Linked DNA regions of Homo sapiens: region 2 is linked to region 1. The links are contacts of gene promoters, found by promoter capture Hi-C in blood cells and fetal thymus (Javierre and others, 2016). All regions are on one chromosome and are shown on one strand. Each heading gives the region's core, a stretch centred on a gene start or on the middle of the fragment in contact. The rest is flanking DNA. Distances are from core to core; before and after follow the strand shown.

The links. Contacts are between HindIII fragments. The CHiCAGO score rates a contact against its expected background, and 5 or more counts as called.
Region 2: a contact is called between a fragment that was not itself captured here and the fragment with the promoter of ABLIM3 in region 1, in 1 of 17 cell types (erythroblasts). The highest score is 6.3, in erythroblasts.

Annotation. Positions count from the first base shown.
Region 1 is chr5:149,137,718-149,143,694 of GRCh38, reverse strand. ABLIM3 (actin binding LIM protein family member 3) reads right to left here and starts at 2,202. Exons shown (of 24, transcript NM_014945.5): 1 at 2,041-2,202; 2 at 1,587-1,686. The coding sequence starts at 1,599. It overlaps LOC124901102 (a long non-coding RNA gene), which reads right to left and starts at 1,579. Exons shown (of 2, transcript XR_007058988.1): 1 at 906-1,579; 2 at 97-262. RefSeq lists enhancers at 780-1,279, 1,280-1,781 and a silencer at 2,087-2,336. The HindIII fragment of the contact is 6,101 bases long and covers 1-2,500 here.
Region 2 is chr5:148,736,975-148,742,822 of GRCh38, reverse strand. No RefSeq gene overlaps it. Among named protein-coding and RNA genes, the nearest start is that of HTR4, 85 kb to the right of the region's middle. The HindIII fragment of the contact is 1,312 bases long and covers 2,466-3,777 here.

The DNA.
Region 1 (5,977 bases), core at 953-3,452:
TGTAAGAGGCAGAGGGAGTCCAGCCACACTCGCTAGCTTAGCATAGATATGCAATACACAAAGGAAGACAGCAGAGAGATGAATCATACAAATACGTAGTAAATAAATATATTTTATTTTCATCTCAGTAGCTTTTGCTTTTTTTTTTCTCTTCCATGCTAGGAGGTGGGGGTGGGGTGGGGTGTGTGAGGAAATAGTAGGTTTTGGCTGGATACAGCTTCAATAAGGTCTTGATAGTTCTGGCCTTGTTGCTCAGCTCTAGCTTTTTAAGAAAAAAAGTGTAGATTCTTAGATTAGAAGGCTTTCTTTTATTATTATTATTATTATTTTTTGAGACAGAGTCTCACTCTGTCGCCCAGGCTGGAGTGCAGTGGTGTGATCTCGGCTCACTGCAACCTCTGCCTCCCAGGTTCAAGCAATTCTCCTGCCTCAGCCTCTTGAGTAGCTGGGATTACAGGCCCACACCACCACACCTGGCTAATTTTTGTGTTTTTAGTAGAGACGGGGTTTCATCATGTTGGTCAGGCTGGTCTCGAACTCCTGACCTCGTGATCCACCTGCCTCTGCCTCCCAAAGTGCTGGGATTACAGGCATGGAACACGGTGCCTGGCCGATTAGAAGGCTTTCTAATTCAACCCCTCTCATCATACAGATGAGCAGTCTGAGATGCAGAGAGGGGACTGATAACAAAGTCATAGACCCAGGGAAGTGACTGTTCATAGGGGTTCTCTGGTTCAACAGCCCTATGCGATGCTGGAATAACCTAGACAGGCCAAGCTGACAAGAGGGCAGGAGAGTGAGTCTGGAACCAAGATATGCCCTCCCAGGTCACAGCGCTACATTGAAGAGAAACAGACTGTGCCTTCTTGAATTTCGGACTGCATTCTCAGTAGCTGAGGCCCTACCTGGCAGCAAAATATCTGGTCCTGGCTCTGCAAGCAGTTGTTGCCTCTGGCATGTTAGAGCCCTTGGCCAAAGGGCTGTTCCTGTCTTCTTGTTCTCAAGGATAGCTAACCAGCCTGCAGGTACATAGAGAAACCAGCCCTGGGCCCACCGGGCTGCAGGCACTCGGGAGCTGGATCTTTCACAATCTCCAGACCCAAAGGTGGCTTGGCGATTATTTGTTTATCAAACTGCGGCTTCCCAGCCCACTGCCTGCCCACACCCACCTACCCTCCCGCCTGCCCACAGGCCAGCCTCCCTGCTCTTCCCACCTCTGGGACAGGCAGGGCCCTCCATGGTTTTCCAGATGTGTGCAGGGAGTTCTCCTCAGAGCCCCCACAGTCAGACAATGGCCACACACTGCTTCCTAGGCCTTCCCAGGCAGTGCTAGAAGGAGACGAGCAGCCTTCCCAGGAGAGGCGGCCGGCGCCGCTGATAAAATATTGGCAAAATTATCACGAAAAGCCAGAGTCATGAAGCTATCCCTCTGCCAAGGAGCACGGAAAGCACCAAAAAAGAGCCTGGGGGTCATGTGTCCAGAGATGCCAGGCTTCCTTCCTCTTTCCAGGCAGCCCGAGCGCAGGCTCCCTCACCTCCCGCCCCCACCCCTGTTCCCATGGCAAAGGAGAGGAGGATCCACTTACTGCTAGTGTTCATGGTGATGTCTTTGCACTGGGTCTTTCATTCAATACGGAGGCCCCGGCTGCTTTTTAAATCTTCCGTTCTTCGAACCTCACTCATCACCTGGGGGGTGAAAAGGCAGTCCAGTGCCAGCTCTGTATCCTCAGGTGCTCTCTCTCCCTCTGCTGTCCCCTCTCTGTCTGGGCTGTAGCCCCTGGCCTTGAAGGCGCGTGGACTAATAGGCGCAGGTGAGAGCAAGGAGAAGGAGGCGGCAGGACACCGGCGCCCCGGTCCTCCTGCTCCTCAGATTGGAATCCCGGGCAGAAGTGGGGTTGGCAGCGCCTGCTCGCGCGCACCCCGGACTATTCCTGCCCAGCGGCTCCGGAGCCCAAAGGGGGTGTGGACCACAGGGAGGCAGGGCGGGGGCAGCGCGTCCCCGCCCGGCTTCAAGGAGCAGCGACCCGCCCCGGAACCCACCTCTCGGCCAGTGTCGGGAGCCAGAGGCCCCTGCCCCGGCCCCTGCGACTGATTTCATGAATCCTGGTCCTCGTCTGGGGTCTCGAATTCCAGGGCTAGCAATGCGAAATAGGGGAGCTCGACATCCATGATGCGGGCTCGCGGGTTGGCAGCGCAGGGGGCGCGGCCGCTCGCTGCTGCCACCTGCTGGACGCACCGGCGCGTGTCCGAGGCCCCGCCCCGCCGGGCTTCTGCCTGGGCCCTAGGGTGTGATGGGAGATGGACGAGGCCTTGTGAGATGGACGAGGCCTTGTGTCCTGGGACCAACGAGGGAGTGCTTGAGCGCTTGTTTTCCCTCCCTCGATCCTGGGGTTCTAAGGGCTCGACAATGATAGGAAAAGAAACATCATTAGGAGGGGCCGTGAAGGAAAACCTGGCTTTGCAGGAAGACAGTTTCCACCCGGCTCTGCTCTGGCAAGCTTGGCGCAGTCTAGGCTCAAGCCGGTCACTACCGTCTCTGCCTCATCTTTCTCAACTATGAATATGGCGTCTGGACAAGTGGATAACACGTAAGGGGCTCTTCCAGCCTCCCAGCGTTTATGTCCCCTCTTCCCTCACAGATTCCCTTTATCCTCTATCGCTGATTCATCATTAGAATTGTTTATTACCTCTTTTCCCCACGAGAATGTTAGCTCCGTGAAAGAATGGGTCTGTCCGTAGGGTTCACCTACAGGCCCCCAATACCTAGCACAGGGCCCGGCATATAGTGGCTACCAATAAATATTTGTTGACAGAGCAACCCAGACATTTTCTGGGTTTAATATTACACAGCCCTAAGAGTAGACTGCCTAGGCGCCCCACCCTGAAACACTTCCCCGTCTGAGGAGAACAGCAGGTATGTGGCCTCACAGGTCCACCCTAGTTTTCATATGGTCAACTAACTCTTCCCCCAAGTTGTTGTTGTTTTTTTTTTTTTTTTTGTAATTATGTCTTATACGTGTGTATTGTAGAAGTTTATATTCCAAAGTGTTTTAGTCACAATTGATTCAGTGGGGTAGGGCTCTTTACATTCCTGTGACTACTTACTCTGTCACTTTCTGAACCTAATTCATGATCATAGAAGCATGACTTTTGAGTGCTGAAAAACAAGACTGTGAGGGCACATGATCCTTGTCTATAGCATGACTTCAATTAGAGCATGTGCAGACTCAAAAGGCTGTGAACACTCACAGCCCCAGCTTAGACAAGGAAACAGGGTGTCAGAGAGGCTGGGCAACGTGCCCTAAGACACACAGCATCTTGTGGCAGAATCGGACCAGATCTTCTCACTTCTAGCTTGATCCTGTGTGAGAGTGGCTCAGTGCACTAAAGTCTGGGATATCAGTGTGAGATTAGATAGCTGCCCTATTAAAATTGGGGAAAGACAAATACGATGTTTTTATACAATGCTTTTAGATAAATACAACGTTTCTACCTTACACAGGGAGGAAAAAAAGGATATGGCTCATGACCCCGAGAGGTGATCAGGATTAAAGAATCTTTGGATAAACCTAAGGATCAATAGATTTGAAACACATTTGATAGATTGTTAAGAATTTTGTCCACATGTTCTCACTCATAAGTGGGAGTTGAACAATAAGAGCACATGGACACAGGGAGGGGAACATCACACACTGGGGCTTGTTGTGGGATAGGGGACTGGGGGAGGGATAGCATTAGGAGAAATACCTAATGTAAATGATGAGTTGATGGGTGCAGCAAACCAACATGGCACATGTATACCTAGGTAACAAACCTGCACGTTGTGCACATGTACCCTAGAACTTAAAGTATAATAATAATTTTTTAAAAAAGAATTTTGTCCAATGGGGTGGAGGTAAAAATAGCCCTAATGTCCTCACGGTCGTTCTTAAAATTTTGTGTCGATAACAAACGCCTGAGATACCTCCAAAAATGCAGATTCCCAGGCCCTGGACTCCCTTGCTCAGCATTTGAAACAAGCATCCCAGGTGATTCATAGACAGCTCTTTGAAAAGGGTAGAGGCCTAAAATAGCTTTGAAAACGTAAGTGATTAGTAAATATTTAAATTATTCCACTTTATGTGTCCTCTACATTTTCAGATGGGATTCCTTGTTCAGTTTCCAAGTTGCAGGTAACTTGCTAGATTCTAATGCTTGGAAAAACATTTTTCTGGGAGAAAGTTCAGATAAATTAGACATGTAAAATTAACTGTTCTATTCCATGAGCATATTTAGTTATCACCCAAGGCCTCAATGTTCAGAAAATTTCAAATTATAAGAAATAGTCAAATGAAAGCATGATATTCATTCATTAGTTCATTCACTCAGCAATTATTTATCGAGGGTATGCTTTGTGGTAGCCCCAGTGCTGGCTTCTGGGGATACCGTGGAGAACAGGACAGACAAGAGCTCTACCCAATAATGGATGATTGCAGAAAAAATAAAAAATAAAGAAATAAAAAGAACTCCAACCTCATAAGCATAAATCCAATCCTGGGACAGCGGGGAGACAATTAACTAAGCAAAATATAAATTAGCTAAACCCGATGGTGGCCTGGGGAAGAGCCCAGGTGCCGTTTCCAGCCTTCCTGACTTTTAATCTCAGCTTCATCACTTTCTAGCTGTCTCACTTTGGGGAAGATACTTAGCCTCTATAAGCCTCAAAGTTTTCATCTGTACAAGGGTACAACCACAGTGCCTACCTTTTGGATTGTCGTATATATTAAAGGACTTAGTGTAATGCATGACAAATAAAGGCTGGTTGCATACTAATTATTAATATCACCCCTCACTTATACCTGCCCTCAGTGACAATGCTGTCATTTTCTACTTATGGAAATCTGTTGGGCTTTTCCACAGAGTGGTGGCCACGAAAATATGCCTGAAAATTTTCAGGTGATTAATTAATTGATAAATTAATTGATGAATTAATGAATTAATTATTCATCAATTAATGAGATTAATTGATGAATTCTTCTTGTCTGGGGTTCTTTTCGATAATGTATCCAGCTAGATGCTGATGACTTCACCTCTTAGAAGAGATCACTGGGTCTTGGGCCACTTTTTAAGGCCCAAATAACATCTGCCGGGGGAACAATCTTATTTTCTCTGCATAGTTTATAAGGATAGGAAAAAAGGGGCTAAAATAAGCTATACAAGCTATGCCCTTGAGGATGTCCACAACAATCAGAGGCAGCGGGAAAGACGCAGGAGGAAGCTGGGGGTGGGATTCTCTGTGGACATGGCTGTGAAAGTCATCAGGGGATCGGTGTTGTTGACTCTGTCCTTGCAGGAGAATGGAGCTGAGAACCACAGAGCAGAGGATCCCTTTGTCTGGAAGTTTGTTTTGAACATTAAGACTCCAGAATGGAGATAAACAAATCTCACCGGGAAACTGGCAAAGGCTCTGGGTGTTGAAAAACCATGTGGCAAAATCATTGGGAGACAAACCTTCCAACTTCTCTGAGGGGAAAAAGGAAAGGTTTTGGGGCCAGCTTCACCCATGGCCATGGCCTTGCACCTCAGGGGCTGTTGCTGGGCTGCCGTTACTGGGCTCTTCTTCACCACAAAGAGCTCCCATCTTTCCTGACTCCCTGTCCCTAACTGGGGTCATCTCAAGCTCTCCTCCTCACTTTCTGCTCCCTGCCTCCCATTGCTGTTATTGACCAAGGCAACTCTTGGCCCCTGACTTTTCTCTCTGGTTGCCTTTCTCTCATTCCCGTCCCATTGCATCTCTGCCTCCTCCTCATCCTGCTCCTGTTCATTTACAAATAAATGCTCACTCACCCTCATCTTGAATACAAAGTCCTTTTAGTCTATAAGGTGTGGGAATGGTGGGGAGGGTGCTTGTAGTCTCATAGTTTCTACTTGCCATCCCTAGACTATCTGAATATCTTACCAAAGGTGACTATTTCTTTTCTTAGTTTTGAAAAATAAT
Region 2 (5,848 bases), core at 1,872-4,371, 400 kb after region 1:
TAATTTTTTGTATTTTTTAGTAGAGACAGGGTTTCACCATGTTAGCCAGGATGGTCTCAATTTCTTAACCTCGAGATCCACCCGCCTCAGCCTCCCAAAGTGCTGGGATTACAGGCCTGAGCCACCGCGCCCAGCCTCAATTGCGTTCTTGATTTGGCACTCAGCTTGGGAATTATTGGTGTATAAAAATGTGACTAATTTTTGTACATAGATTTTTTATCTTGAAAATTTGCTGAAGTTGGTTATCAGAGCTAGGAGCTTTTGGGGCGAGACTATGGGGTTTTCTAAGGATAAAATAATATTGTCTGCAAACAGAGATCATTTGACTTTCTGTCTTCCTATTTGGAACCCTTTTATTTCCTTCTCTTGCCTGATTATGCTGGCTGAGACTTCTAGTGTTATATTGAATAGGAGTGGTGAGAGAGGGTATCCTTGTCTTGTTCTGGTTCTCAAGGGAAATGCTCCCAGCTTTTGCCCATTCAGTGTGATGTTGGCTGTGGGTTTGTAATAGATGGCTCTTATTATTTTGAGGTATGTTCCTCCAATGCTTAGTTTGTTGAGGGTTTTTAACATGAAAGGATGCTGAATTTTATCAAAAGCCCTTTCTGCATCTATTGAGATTATATATGGTTTTTGTTTTTAGTTCTGTTTATGTGATGAATCACATTTATTAATTTGTATATGTTGAACCAACCTTGCATCCCAGGGATAAAGCCTACTTGATCATGGTGGATTAGCTTTTTGATATGCTGCTGAATTTGGTTTGCTAGTATTTTGTTGAGGATTTTTGCATAGATATCCATCAAGAATATTGGCTTGAAGTTTCCTTTTTTGTTGTTGTTGTTGAGTCTTTGCCAGGTTTTGGAATCAGGATGATGCTGACATCATAGAATGAGTTAGAGAGGAGTCCTTCTCCTCCATTTTTTGCAAAGTTTCGATAGGAATAATACTGGCTCTTCTTTATATGTCTGGTAGAATTCGGCTGTGAATCTGTCTGGTCCTGGGTTTTTACTTGTTGGTAGGATTTTTATTACTGATTCAATTTAGGAACTCGTAATTTGTTCAGAGTTTGAACTTTTTCCTGGCTCAGTCTTGGGAGGTTGTATAATTCTAGTAATCCTCTATTTCTAACATGGTCCTTCTCATATCAAGGAAAGCCAGCTACTTTTAATGACTTTATTTTTATCCGGAGCTGACTGGAGTTGGAAGTGAGGAGGAATAGCGAAGACGATGTGAAAACAGCTGTTAGCATTTGTGGGATGTCCGAGCTATGTACTCATGGCTTGTAGATGTATCCATAAAACTATCCTAGTATTTTATTTCTCTATGCTTACATCTGCAGAAAAAAAACAAACTTCACCATCTAGTGGTACAAACCTTGAACTGCAGACATACATCCACCATTTCCTTATTCTTTATCCCATTTAACAGCTATTTATTGACTGAGCACCCACTTACTATGTGCCAATAACTGACCCAGACAAACCTCTGTTCTTCTTTAGTCCCTCATGTATTGATCACTTTCTGCAGGTGGATCATGTTGTTTGGAGCTTTGGCGCTTGCAGTTTGGTGTTGACAGTTTTCGGTAAACAGAGCCATGGGAGGTCAGGTTTTTTGGTGCGAAGGTCAAACCCTGGCATCTCTGGGACTCATACAACTTGCTGTTTTGGACTGATTAGTAACTATTAAAAATGTAAACAAGCTGGGGAGATTTAGAACCCAGAGGATTTCACACATGCAGACGTACACACCCCACAAGGACTTGAGTCCTCTCTGGGACAGTCACGAGATTTGGCTGCTGCTGCTGGTATTCTTGCATTTCAACAATTGGCTGGAGCTGAGAAGCAGCTGCCCCTTTAGACGCAGCTACTCTGTCAGACCCACATTGGCTGTTCTGTCCACTCACTTATTTCAGTTTGATCTCTTTTCCGAGATATCCAGGCATTTGGTGGATTTTGATTCTCCATGTTTATTCCTAAGGAAACTTATCTCCAAATCTCTCCAATCTTTCTTCCAACAAAGCCCAGTTTCCAGAAGAAGTAATTATAACTGCACAATTATCAAGGGCATAATATATTTCTTGATAACCCTGACATAAATTAAGGGCCATTTATTTGTCTGGGTTTCTGTTCCTGTTAAAAATAATCTCTTTGCTCAATGTCCCACACTTGGTTATTTTCCTTCCTCTTTGCTTGGTGAAACAGAAGGCTCTTTTAGAGATTTTGACTGTTTCTCATTATTATTTATCCAACAGATACTTAATGAGCACTTCCTAAGTGCCCGGACCTCTGCTTCATGTGAGAGATGTATCTGAGAAGGGGACGGACATGCACCTAACGGTGCCAGCGATGTGGCCATTATGAAAGATCGTGATGTTGTAGGAACATACAGAAGGAACACTGTGCCTAATATGGGGATGGGAATAGGATCGAGGGGATGTTCCTAGAAAAATTAATGTTGAAGCTTAGACCTTGAGATAAGTAGTGATTTGCCAAGGAGGGAGAACCTTGCACAAATGCCCAGACCAGATTCGAGAGAGTCATGGGGCATGGAGAGGAACTGAATAGTGTCCTTGAGCTCTGCCGAGGAGCACAGACTTTATCTGGAGGGTAACAAGGAGCAAAGAGAGCTTATGAGCAAGGGAGTGAATATTTAGGTCTGTGTTTTTAGAACATCACTCCATCTCTTAAAACTTATTTTAGGAGACTTGGCTGAGAGCTAGGGCTCTCATTCCTTTAGACACTTTCTAGTTCAGTTTTATAAGGGACAAGTTTATTCTGAAGGACTCCAGGAGAGGCACCATCAACATCCTCACAGTGCTGCTGTGCTGGCTGTTGCTTCGCCCCTGGGGCCTCTCTTGTTTTGCCCTTTAGATTCTTGTTGTTTTTGCCCCACTTTCCTTGTAGATATCTCTTGTTTTCTCTGTAGTTCCCTCATCGCTTTCCACGTAATTAAGGCATCTTCCTGGAGCTACTGAGGGTTTGTGGTTGCCTGGAGAACCACAGCAACAATGTCATGAGCTCCCCCACCCATCCCAGGGAGCCCTGGGATCAAAAAGTCAGCTTCAAAGCCTAGTTGGAAGTAGTCAATGCAAAGCCAAAAGTCAACAAACATTTCTCCAGAGTCTTGGCACCAGAAGGCCTTTCTCTTGTTCCTTTTACTCAATTCCCAGCTGGTTAGCAGCCTGAACTTCTGCCTACCATCCCCTTCCATGGCAGCTCCCAACTGTGCTGTAAGATTATTGAGGGAGGCTAGGAATAGAGACTTAATACTGAGAAGACACTTAAGCACTTGATCCAATCCAATTCCCTATTTTATCAAGAATACCGTCCTGCTTCCTGACTTCCTGACTTTTGAAATGAGCTAGTATGGGTGCCTGACACTGCTGGTTCTGGTTTGAGCACATACAGTCACTGACTACGTGGACTCAGGAAACTATTTCACTTCTTTGGGCCCTGGTTTCCTTTTCTGTAAAGTGAGAATAATAATCCCTGCACTGCCTACTTCACAGGGTTATTTTGAGGAGGAGAAAATGACTCTATAGTTGCATTCAATCATTTACGAAAACATATATTGATTACTCAGCCATGTGCCAGCTAAAGGGGGATGAAAGCTCCTGTTAAACTGTAACGTGTTACACAAATATCACATTCTCAGATGTAGAAAACTCATTATCGACTGGGTCAGACTGGGTGTGTTTGTCCTGCTTCCCTCACCTGTCTTGCCTCCAGTTAGGTTCTTGGGTATTGCCCGCATGTAAACATTCAAGGCAAAGCTTTAGCAAGAAACCTAATACATAGAAAGTATTGACTAGCATTAGAAAGAGCTATGGTGACAAGGCCTCTGTGTATTTGAAAGCTTCATTAAGTCCCGCTGCAGACGGCCATATGTGATAGGATGGTATATCACACTTTTCCTATTATTCCAGTATTGACAAGTAGAACCCCAAACAATGGACAAAGAGGATCTAGTGCCACATTCTAAAGATTGCCAGCAATAGCTGGAGCCAGAACACTGTTCCCCCCACAAATCCCCAGGGCTTCTTAAAAGTCAAAACTGGCCCTGCTACCATGAGCCTTTCCGCTTTCTCCTCCCTCCTTCTTTCTAGGCTATGTAAGCAGACGTCTAGGAAAGGAGGAAAGGGAGGGAGAAGGAGTCATTACAGGAGTCAGACTGTAGGGAGGAAAGTGTTCATGGAAGGATCTATAGGGTTTAAAATCCCAATGGGAAAGAGATGGGATCCTCAAATTAGAACAATTCAGAGACGGTTTGCTTGTAAGGAGGAGGCACAAAGGCTGATGCAGTCACCCAGGGGTAGTGGCAGCAGAGGTGTTTCTAATTCTAAGCCCAAAGGGACGAAAGGAGGGAACTGCATTAAGAACCAGAAGGAGAGAGCCATCTTCAAATCTTTTAGAAATATTTTCCAGTGGTCAGGCAAGAGATAATGGTGGCCCTAATATAGAACTGTCAGGACAGTTGGAGAAAAAGGTGAAAGTATGAGAGCTATTTTGAAAACAGACTTATCAAGCCTTGTGGATGGAATGAATTAAAAAGAAAGAGAGGAGAAAAGGGCAACTTGTAGGTTTCAGGCTTGGGAAGCTGGGTTTTGCTTGGGAACATGATAGGGGTTTGGGGTTGGGTGGGAAGATCCACTCAATTTTGGACCTGCCAGGTTGAGATGAAAACATCTAGGTGGAGGTGTCCAGCATTCAGATGGATATGGCATCTGAGGCTCAGAAGAGAGACATCAGCTGGGGATGCAGAATTACATGTGAACAATAATAATTACATGTATTAAAGGCTGTCATGTAAGATGTCCAAGATGCTGAAAATATGATGCTTAGTGAATGAAGAAAGCAGCTCTTGGCATTTTGAAAAATTGTCTTTGCTACCTTGGAATTATGGCCACTCCTGAAAGAGATAATACCGTTATGCTCTCTTATGGTAATTACTACCCACAAAACAGCTGTTTTGCAGTAGAGGGAATTAAGGTTCAGAGATGTGAGTATAGTAGCTAGGATTATTACCCTTGCAAGTGACCAAAAGTCCTGTTTAAACCAGTTTAAATGAGCAAAGGAATTCATTGGCTTAAATCCAGGGGTGGCTTTTGGTTTGGGGCACAGTTTGATCTAGGAGTTCAGAGAATGTCATTGAGACACAGTGTGTCTACTTTTATATTTGCTCTGCTTTTCTCCATTCATGTATTGGCTTTACTTCATAGCTGGCTGTTTCGTGACAGCAAGATGGTTAGAGCAGCTCCAAGCCTCACATGCTCATGACCTCAAATCTATTGAACAGATAACCTTTCTCCCTCAGAAGTCCAGTTACAGTTCTCAAGTCTTTTCACTGGCTCTAACTGGGTCCTGTTCTCAGCCGTGGCCCATCACTGTGGCCAGAGGGATGGGATCTGCCAACTGGGGGAAGGGTCAGTCCCACCTAAACATTATGATTTCACAATAGAGGAGAGGTATATCCACAAGTGAAAAACAGGGTGCTATCACCTGAGAATTCACTTCACTCAAGTGAAGGAAAAAGACAAAATCCAGTGATCCAGGAAGAAAAGGATCTGTTTGAGGTCACTCAACTTGTTAATATCAGGCCAAAGCTAGATCTCAGGAGTTCACCCCACTTACTTTCTTCCACACTCTATTGCTACTTGTTTGATTTGTTTCCACCAAAGTTCCCAGAGACTTAAGGTGGTCAGAGGTCAGGAATGTGTTAACAGCAATAAGGGTAGTGATAAAAACATTCAAGAGGTCCCAAGTCATTCAGGATCTTTCTCTGGCCCAGGGTCACCAGTTGGCCAAAGTTGGACTAGAGAGTGACAGGGGAAAGGCACTGCCCAGGC